Regions from separate parts of the Homo sapiens genome. Here region 2 is linked to region 1. Evidence: promoter capture Hi-C in 16 types of primary human blood cells and fetal thymus (Javierre and others, 2016). All regions are on one chromosome and are shown on one strand. Each heading gives the region's core, a stretch centred on a gene start or on the middle of the fragment in contact. The rest is flanking DNA. Distances are from core to core; before and after follow the strand shown. Region 1 holds the start of ZNF155 (zinc finger protein 155). Region 2 has its middle 2.9 kb from the start of ZNF233.

Region 1 (5,166 bases), core at 1,435-3,934:
TTGGGTAAAGAGTATATGAGAATTCCTTATACTATTTTTGCAACTCTTCTACAGCTTTGAAATGATATAAAAATGAAAGGTTTTCAACTATCAGGAAATAGTCATAAGGATGATAACAATGGGGGCTGGGCGCCGTGGCTCACACCTGTAATCTCAGCACTTTGGGAGGCCGAGGTGGGCGGATCACAAGGTCAGGAGATCGAGACCATCCTGGCTAACACAGTGAAACCTCGTCTCTACTAAATATACAAAAAAATAGCCGGGCATGGTGGCCGGCACCTGTAGTCCCAGCTACTCAGGAGGCTGGGGCAGGAGAATGGTGTGAACCCGGGAGGCGGAGCTCACAGTGAGCCGAGATCGCACCACTGCACTCCAGCCTAGGTGACAGAGCGAGACTCCGTCTAAAAAAAAAAAAAAAAAAACACAAATGGGAATAATATTGGATGAGCATGACATAATATGGCAGTTTACTAGTTTATTCTCTATTAGCAGTATTTAAAAATTTCCATAGTTAAAGAAATATGGGAAAACACATTAAGATATTATAACAATTTTTTTAAATGCTTATAAATAAATATACAATAGACACAGAGAAAGACTAAAAAGAAACGGAGGAGAACTGGAAGTTCCATCTCTTGTATCAGACAGTTAGCACCTTCACATCTTGGATTCATGGGTAATTTAAAACATGTTTTCTCCTCCTATTAATCTAATTTTAAAATGCTCCACAATGATATGGTTCCACAATACAAAATCCTTATAAAAAGTGAAACAGGATGTTGACAAATTTTTAAAAGACTCCTACAGAAGTCCAAGTCTATGAGCCTTGCTCTCAAGGTCCCTTCAATCAAGTCCTAACTCTCTTTCCCCACCTGATTCCAGCTAGTTCCTCTACCTCAATGAAAATGTATCCAAGGGATGATCAACTCAGGCTCTGACCCAAACTGCCTAGGTTCCAGCTCCAGCTGTACCTCATTCTACTGGGAACTAAGCACCAGGTGTCTCACTCCCATATTTAAAATGGAAAAGAGCGACCGGGCGCGGTGGCTCACGCCTGTAATCCCAGCATTTTCGGAGGCCAAGGCGGTCGGATCACGAGGTCAGGAGTTTCAGACCAGCCTGACCAAAACGGTGAAACCCCATCTTTACTAAAAATACAAAAATTAGCTGGGCGTGGTGGTGCGCACCTGTAATCCCAGCTACTTAGGAGGCTGAAGCAGGAGAATCGCCTGAACCTGGGAGGCGGCCTATTGCACTGAGCCCAGATCGCGCCACTGCACTCTAGCCTGGGCGACAGAGCGAGACTCCGTCTCAGGAAAAAAAAAAAAAAAAAAAAAAGAAAAAGAGCAATACCTTTCCACAGAGCCATGGTGTGGCGTAAATGTATTTATTTCCATAAAGCCCTTAGAATTAAGTTACCAATTAAGGTTTAATTATTATCAACACCCATGCCCAAGGACACATCCTATACACTCTTGGTTGAGGTGAACATCTCTGTAAAAGAAAAAACCGGCCCGGCGCGGTGGCTCACACCTGTAATTCCAGCACTTTGGGAGGCCGAGGCAGGCGGATCACTTAGGACCACAGGTTCGAGACCAGCCTGGCCAACATGGTGAAACCCCGTCTCTACTAAAAATACAAAAATTAGCCGGGCATGGTGACGCATGCCTGTAATCCCAGCTACTCCGGAGCTGAGGACAGAGAATCGCTTGAACCCAGGAGGCGGAGGTTGCAGTGAGCCAAGATCGCGCCACTGCTGCACTCCAGCCTGGGAGACAGAGCAAACCTCATTCTCAAATAATAACAATAATAAAAACAGACTAACAAAATAAATAACTTTTTTTTAAAAAGAGAAAAGCCAAAGACCACTCGTGTAGACAGCTTTGTCCTCAGTAGCCAAGTCCCTCCCTGCAGCTCTTTTAGAAAAGTCAGGCTGGGGAAGGAGAAAGCTGTCAAACACTCTGCGTCGCCGTCCCGGATACAAGTTAAATGCTCCTCTCCCTTCGTGAAACGTGGATGCAACCCACGCCTTCCTAAAAAGAGGTCAGAGGCGTCCGGGATCATCCAGAGCCCTGCCGGGCTCCAAGAGAAGGGCCGGAGCAGCTGGAGCTCTGACCCCACCCGGGCACCTGACCACTTCGCGGGAAATTAACAGGACACCAAGTGACAGGAGCTGTTAAGTCTTTGTTTTATACCACAACTTTCAACTCCTAAAACAATTCTATCAGGATGGTCCTGAAATCCTCATTTAAAAAACGGCAATGGGAGGTACAGGGAGATTAAGTAACACCCCACGTTATATCGCGAGAAAGAGGTCGCACACTTAAGAGTGGAGGGAGGCGGACTGAACGAGGTCAAACACCTGGAAAACCCTCTAAACAGGCACACAAGACTAGACAGAGTTCTTCCCCGCCCCCCCCGAACCCCCGACGACTCCTCCGGTGGACCTGAGTACAGCCCCCAACGCCAGAAGGCTCCATCGACGGCAACGAAACTTCCCTCCCACCCCTCGCATCTCCAAACCTCAGGTCTTCTCCAGGGCTTCTTACCCCCTTAGTTGACCCCCCAGGTCGTTAGGCGCCCCTAATAACTGGTTCACTTTCGCAAAGACCCGCAAGACACATACTTGGCTCAAACCACCTTGTTAAGTAGCAGTGTCCTGCTCGGAGACCGGAAGTGTCGATGATGCCACAGGCGTCTGGACTACACTTCCCAGAATCCCCCGAATCCGCCTGCCTGAGCCAAAGTTCCCACGACTCCACAGAGCAAATGGACTCCACTTCCCAGAATTCACAGGTCCTCCTGCCTGGGCCAAAATTCCCACGCCTCCCAAGCTACTCGCGAAACGCCTGCGGGAGCCAAATTTCCTGCGCATCGACCGGGCAATTAGACTCCCGCAGGCGTTTCGCTGGTATCTTGGGAAATGGAGTCCATTTGCTCTGTGGAGGCGTGAGAATTTTGGCTCAGGCAGGTGGACCTGTGAATTCTGGCCTATCAACCTATATTTTTATTTTAAAAAAATGGAGTCTCATGTTCTATATCAATTTTTCTAAACTAAAAAAGAATACTTTTCATGGTTTTCTTTAGATAAAGTGACTGTGCCAACCACAGTATGAGGAACACTTCTCTGAAAATTGAGTGACTGCTATTTCTAAACCAGTTACAGCTGTATCCTTGCTCTGTTCTGCCCTCCCAAGAGATAAAAATTTATTGACACGCTCAATCGTAGTAGGCAGGAAACTGTGCCTAATATATTAGGGTATATCTGGCATCAAAGGCCCTTTCTGTCCCCCAGGTCCTTGCACTCTGGGCCTGTGATGGGAGGAGAAGCTGCCATAATCTGTGAAATGCCTTTGGGGTCATTCTTCCATTGTCTTGGACAATAGGTCCTGGCTTCAGTTGACATGGCCAATCCATACTAAATTCATGAATTAGTTAGTTGCTTAACCATACCCTTGTATTCTTCAGGTTTCCTGTTTTTTTTTTTTTCCAAAGTAGATAGGCTGTAAACTTTTAAAAATTTTAGTTCTGTTTCCCTTTTAATTAATAATTATTTCAGTCATTCCTCACTTCGTGCCTTTCACTACGGGTAGTCAAGATGATTCAAGCAACTTCAACACTTTGATTAGAAATTAATTCAGATAAACAATTATATCATTCACAAATTCTACCTTCCATAAAACACTAGCACCTGAATATAATTCAGCCAAATTCTTTGTCCCTTTATAACAAGAAGCTCTCTTCTCTTCCAATAACATGTTCAACATTTCTGACTGAGGTCTTCAGAATGGCCTTTACTGTCCATATTTCTACCAACATTCTGATCATGACTACCTAGGTATGCTCTAACAAGATTGATGTTTTCTCTACAGTTCTTATTCTCTATTTCTGAGCGCTAACCAGAATTGTCCTTATCAGTCCATTCATGGCAATGTAGGCTTTTCCTAGCATACATGTAAAAACTCTTCTAGACTCTATCCATTACATAGTTCCAAAGACTGCTACATTTTTAGGTATTTGTTGCAGCAGCAAGCCCACCTCTCAGTACCAATATTTTTTAGTCACAAAATATCATAGCCTGCCTGGCTTTTATTTTATTTTATTTTATTTTATTTTATTTTATTTTATTTTATTTTATTTTATTTTTGAGACGGAGTCTTGCTCTGTCGCCCAGGCTAGAGTGCAGTGGCGCGATCTCGGCTCACTGCAAGCTCTGCCTCCCAGGTTCATGCCATTCTTCTGTCTCAGCCTCCCGAGTAGCTGGGACTACAGGTGCTCGCCACCATGCCCGGCTAATTTTTTTGTATTTTTGGTAGAGAAGAGGTTTCACCGTGTTAGCCAGGATGGTCTCGATCTGACCTTGTGATCCGCCCACCTCGGCCTCCCAAAGTGCTGGGATTACAGGCGTGAGCGACCACGCCCGGCCGGCTTTTAAGCAACAGAAATCTATTCTTCACAGATCTGGAAACTGGGATCCAAGATCAAAGCACTGGCAGATTTTGTGTCAGGTAGTTGGCCACTTTCTTGTTCATAGTTAGCACCATATTGCTGTGTCTTCATTTGGTTGAAGTGACAAACAAGCTCCTTCTGGCATTTTTTATAAGGGTATTCATCCCGTGACCTAATCACCCTCCAAAGGCCCCACCTCCTATTACCATCACATTGAGGGTAAAAATTACAATATATGGATTTTGGTGGGCCACAAACATTAAGACCATTGCATACGCATCATGCAGTGTCAGAGTTACTAATTCATATCATTGTAAAAAACAATGCAAAAGTAGAGTTCAACATTTTTTATAGTTCTTTTTGTCTTTAGACTGAGGATATATAGTCAAACACTGTACTGTTTAATAAGTTGCTTAAATTACTTCTTGCTGTCACCTTTAGACTGTTTATGTTATTGATTTGAAATACATTTAGGTTAATTTGTTATTCTATGATTTTCACTTTCCTAGTTTATCTACAAAGAAATCTCATTCTTGATTTTATATTATTGGGTATGTCAGTCATCAACATGTTCCCATGAGTCAATGCTCTACCACATATTATTCTCAGAGAAGTGCCACTCCCCTCCTTCCTACCCCTAAACCAATTCCACAGTGTTGCCACCTAACACCTTTATGTAACTAATTTTATTATTTTCATTACCACTTTTTTTTAACA
Region 2 (5,166 bases), core at 839-3,338, 270 kb before region 1:
GAGGCAGAGGTTGCAGTGAGCCAATATCGTGCCACTGCACTCCAGCCTAGGCGACAGTGAGACTCCAGCTCCAAAAAAAAAAGAAAAAAGAAAAAAAGAAAATCAAGAAGAAGAGAAATATTTACAGTTCTGTACGGTATTGATACTGTAAGTTTACACCATCTGTTTACAAAATAAACCATCTTTCTGAAATGGCAGGCAGCTGCAGCTTCAGACCTCATTCTACAGTACATATCAAGCAATTCAACTTTTTCTTATAATGTCATGACTTTTCTATGCATCTTGGGAGCACTTGCAACATCACTAGTGGCAGTTCACATAGGTCCCATGGTAGTATTCAAGTTTTATAGTATTGCACTAAACACAATAAAAAATAAGAAACCTTTAGATCACTTTTTACTGTAATACGCAATTTACTAGAGAGATGAACTGCTCACTTTGAGATGATTAGCATTACTTGGAATTTTAAGCAGATATTTACACACATGAGCTCACCACAACAGTGACAGGAGATAGCTATTAAATTATTACAGTAGCACAGCATGTACTACAGTTAACTTTATGCAGGCTTGATTTAATATTGCATCTTTGTTTTACATTTCTCTTGACTGTGAACGTACAGTCTGTGTTTGTGTGTGTAAGTTTTTATAAGTTTTACCTTTTTTTAATAGATTCATGTATATTTTATGGTAGTAAATGATAAAATAGACTAATATCTACATATATTTTATGCATTCATGATATACCTAAATTTTTCTTAATTGTTTGATATTTCTAGACTACACGGCTTATCTGTGAGCTTTTTCAAATTGTTGCAAATTTCCAAAAAAAATTGCAATATATTTGTTGAAAAAAAATTCACATATAAGTGGACCCATGCAGTTTAAACCTGTGTTGTTCAAGAGCCAACTGTATTGTAATTTGGAAAAAAACAACATCTAAATTATATCTTGAAAATGCTTCTTCCCTTATTTCAATTTAAATTTTTTTTTGTATCCACTCAGCTTGCTCTTGAGATGATAAATGCAATAGAATGATCATCAATAGATCAAGTCAATGTGGTATCAAAAATGAAGTAATATTTAGCAGCCTTGTAAAAGCACATATATCAGGACTTCTTGCAGAGGCTTTGTTTCCAATGTGATTTTCTCTAGAAAGGAGAAAGTTGTTTTATTTAAGTTATGGGGGTGGGTATTGTGTATAGAGTGGGGAACTGCCTTTGATATTTTCTATCACAAATTTTTTTAGCTCAGTCAGCAGAATTTTATTATTTTAGCACCAAAGGAATCCTGAATCATGTTTTGTTTTCATCTCAAAGTATTTTCTAATTTCCCTGTAACTTCTATCCCCATCGGTTTTTATGAGTGTGCTGTTTAATTTCCACACATTTGTGAATTTTCCAGTTTTCCTCATTACTGATTTGAGTTTCATTTTTTTGTGGCCTGAGAATACATTTCATGTGACTTTATCTTTCTGTTGATACGTGAGATTTTTTATTTTTATTGAGACCTGTTTTGTGGCCTAATGTATGATCTATCCCAGAAAATGTTTCATGACCACTTAAGAAAAATATGTATTCTGCTGGTTTTAGGTGGGGTGCTTTGTATATATCTGCTAGGAGTTTGGTTTATGTTTCCAAATCCTCTAATTCTTTATTGATCTTTTGTCTGGTTGTTGTATCCATTATTGAAAGTGAGATACTGAAGTCTGAAAACATTGTAGAAATATTTATGTCTCCCTTCAGTTCCATCAATTTTCACACCATATATTTGGGGACTAGCTGTGTAATGTCTGTATTGTTATATCTTCTTGATGGATTGACTCTTTTGTCAATATATAATGTCATTGTTTGTCTCTTGTCAAGTTTTTTACCTAAGTCGATTTTGTCTAATATTAATACAATTACTTCAGTTCTCTTTTTTTACATCCTGCATGGAATAATTTTCTTCCATTTTTTCACTCAACATTTTTTGTCTTTGGATTGCAAATAAGTCTCTTATAGACAGCATATAGTTGGATCATGCTGTTTTATCCATTCTGTCCATTTTTGCCTTTTAACTGGAGAGCTTAATCTATTTGCATTTAAATTAATTCCTGATTTTAAAACGGCCTTGCTTCTTTCACTTTGTGATCTGTTTTCTACATGGCTTATCTTTTTTGTTCCTAGGTCTCTTGATTAATGCCTTCTTTCCTAGGTCTCTTGATTAATGCCTTCTTTTCTGTTTGATGTTTTTGCAGCGTACCTTTTTCTTTTTTTTTCCATTTTGAGACAGGGTCTCACTCTGTCACCCAGGCTGGAGTGCAGTGGTGTGATCTCAGCTCACTGCAACCTCTGCCTCCTGGGTTCAAGTGATTCTCATGCCTCAGCCTCCCAAGTAGCTGGGACTACAGGCATGCACCACAATGCCCAGCGAATTTTTGTATTTTTAGTAAAGACAGAGTTTCACCATGTTGGGCAGCCTGGTCTTGAACTCCTGACCTAAAGTGATCCACCCACCTTGGCCTCCCAAAATGCTGGGATTACAAGCGTGAGTCACCATGCCCGACCTGTAGTGTACCATTTAATTTTTCTTCTTATTCCCTTTTCTGTATATTTTCTTAGTGATTACCCTGTGGTATACAGTTAACGTCTTTTTTTCTTTTTTGAAACAAGGTCTTACTCTGTCACCCCGGCTGGAGTGCAATGGGTGTGATCTTGGCTCACTGCAGCCTCAAATTCCTGGGCTCAAGTGGTCCTCCAGCCTCAGACTCCTGCATAGTTAGGACTACAAAAATGTGCCATCACACCCAGCTAATTAAAAAAAAAATTGTAGAGACAGGGTCTCACTATGTTGCCCAGGCTGTTCTCAAACTCCTGGCCTCAAGCAATCCTCCTGCCTCACCCTCCCAAAGTGCTGGGATAACAGATGTGAGCTACCACAGCTGGCCTATTTTTCCAAATTTTATTATGAAAAAATTTAAAGATGCAAAAGTGTTGAATAGTATTAATTCAAACTATATTGTAATACATTAAAGAAGTTAATATAGCTTGAATTAATACTAACCTAGCTTCCAAAATATAAAAAATCCTGCTCCCGTATCTCTGTCCTCCTCCCTTTAGGATTTGAAAAATTACATCTTTATACATTGTGTGCCCCATTAACATAGATTTGTAACTATTTTACTCATTTTTCTTTAAATCATATAGGAGTTATGAGCCAATAATACAATAATATTGGCTTTTGTGTTTACCTATGTAATTACTTTACCAGTGTTCTTTATTAATTTATATGGCTTCAAGATTTAGTGTTTTTTCACTTCTGCCTGAAGTATTTTGTATTTCTTGTAGGGCAGGCCAACTAGCAATGAACTCCCTCAGTGTTTGTTTATCTAGGAATGTCTTAATTTCTCCTTCATTTTTGAAGGATGGTTTTGCCAGATATAGGATTCTTGGCTAACAGGTTTTTTTTATTTCATTACTTTAAATATGTCATCATACTGGCTTCTGGAGATCATGGTTTCTGATGAGAAATGGGTTATTAATCTTATTATAGAGGCTTTGAACATGAGGTGTCACTTTCTCTTGTTGATTTTGAGTCTCTGTCTTTTTATGGTTTGATTATAATGTGTCTTGGTGTGGATCTCTATGCATTTATTCTTCTTGGAGTTAGTTCCTTGAGCTTCTTCTATGTGTAGATTCATGTCTTATAAGTTTGAGAAGTTTTTGAACATTATTTCTTCAAATATTCCTTATACTCCTTTCTCTCTCCTCTTATTGTGACTCCCATTGTGCATATGCTGATATGCTTGATGGCATCCCACAGGTATCTGAGTTCTACTTACTTTTTCTTCTGCTCCTCAGATGGAATAACTTCAATTTACTTATCCTTTAGTTCACTGATTTTTCTGCTTGCTTAAATATACTGTTGAAATCCTCTAGTGAATTTTCATTTCAGTTATTATACTCTTCAGGTCCAAAATTCATGGTTTTTAAATAATTTCTACCTATTTGATATCTTTTTTTCAGACATGATTCTCCTGGTTTATTATTTTTGTTCATGGTTTCCTCTAGTTCTTTGAGAATATTTAAGACAGTTTATTTAAAGTCTTTGTCTGGTAAGTCCAGTGTCTGTGTTTCCTTGGGGACAGTTTCTGTTCATTTATTCTGGGAATGGACCATAATTTTTTATTTGCATGCTGTGTACTTTTTTTTTGTTTGTTTTATAATGTGGTATCTCTTAAAGTCAGATTCTTCCTCCTGCTCAGTTTGTTCTTATCTTATTGTGGATCGTAATGGTTTGTTTAGTGACTGTTACAGGTTTAATTTTGTCTCCCAAAAAGATATGTTGAAGTCCTAACCTGTGAACATGACCTTACTTTGAAATAGGGTTTTTGAAGATGCAATCAAGATGAGGGCATTAGGGTGTACCCTCATTCGATACGACAGTGTCCTTATTAGAAGAGTAACATACCATATTAAGACTGAAACACATGGGGAGAATGCCATGTGACCACAGAGACAGAGCTTGAAGTGATACAGCTAAAAGCCAAGGAATATCAAAGATCAATGGATACCAGCAGAAGCTACTAAGTGGTAATGAAAGAGAGCATGGCCCTTCTGACACTTTGATTTTGGAGGTCTAACCTGGAGAAAACTGGGAGAGAATGAATTTTTGTTGTTCAAGCCACCCAATTTTGTGCCATGTGGTAAGAGCAGCTCTGGGAAATGAATAGTGAGTTTTCTAAACTACTTTTTTTGTAAAACTGGTATTCCCTGTATTGTGTGGTATCTAAGGCCTCTATTCTTTTCATTTATTTTTACCCAGTGTGTTAACAGGGATTTCCTTGAATGTCTGGATGAAAAACAAACAAAAAAGGAAAAATATTTGCCCACTCTTTGCGCAATGACTCTTTGTTGGAGCCCTCTTTCGGTGCTTAGCCAGGTCATTTACAACTCTGCCAAAGCCTTCCCTTACTGCTTGCACTAAGTCAAAGATCAGTCAGAGGTGAAAGCTTGCAGTTTTTTCAGGTCATTTCTGAACATATGTTCTCCTCTGAGTATGTGCATGCCTTTCTAAATTTCCTGGTGTATGTGGGGAGCTTTTCAATACCCTACTTCCTCACAGAATCTCTCTCCCCAGATTTTCCTCCCAAGTTGTCATTCTGTATATTGTTTGCTTCAACAGT

Evidence for each region. The method cuts DNA at HindIII sites, captures the fragments that hold promoters and counts their contacts. A CHiCAGO score of 5 or more calls a contact.
Region 2: a contact is called between a fragment that was not itself captured here and the fragment with the promoter of ZNF155 in region 1, in 1 of 17 cell types (naive CD8 T cells). The highest score is 5.2, in naive CD8 T cells.

Annotation. Positions count from the first base shown.
Region 1 is chr19:43,981,706-43,986,871 of GRCh38, reverse strand. It overlaps ZNF155 (zinc finger protein 155), which reads right to left and starts at 2,684. Exons shown (of 5, transcript NM_198089.3): 1 at 2,627-2,684. RefSeq lists a silencer at 2,788-2,987. The HindIII fragment of the contact is 8,717 bases long and covers 1-5,166 here.
Region 2 is chr19:44,254,424-44,259,589 of GRCh38, reverse strand. No RefSeq gene overlaps it. Among named protein-coding and RNA genes, the nearest start is that of ZNF233, 2.9 kb to the left of the region's middle. The HindIII fragment of the contact is 5,812 bases long and covers 1-4,994 here.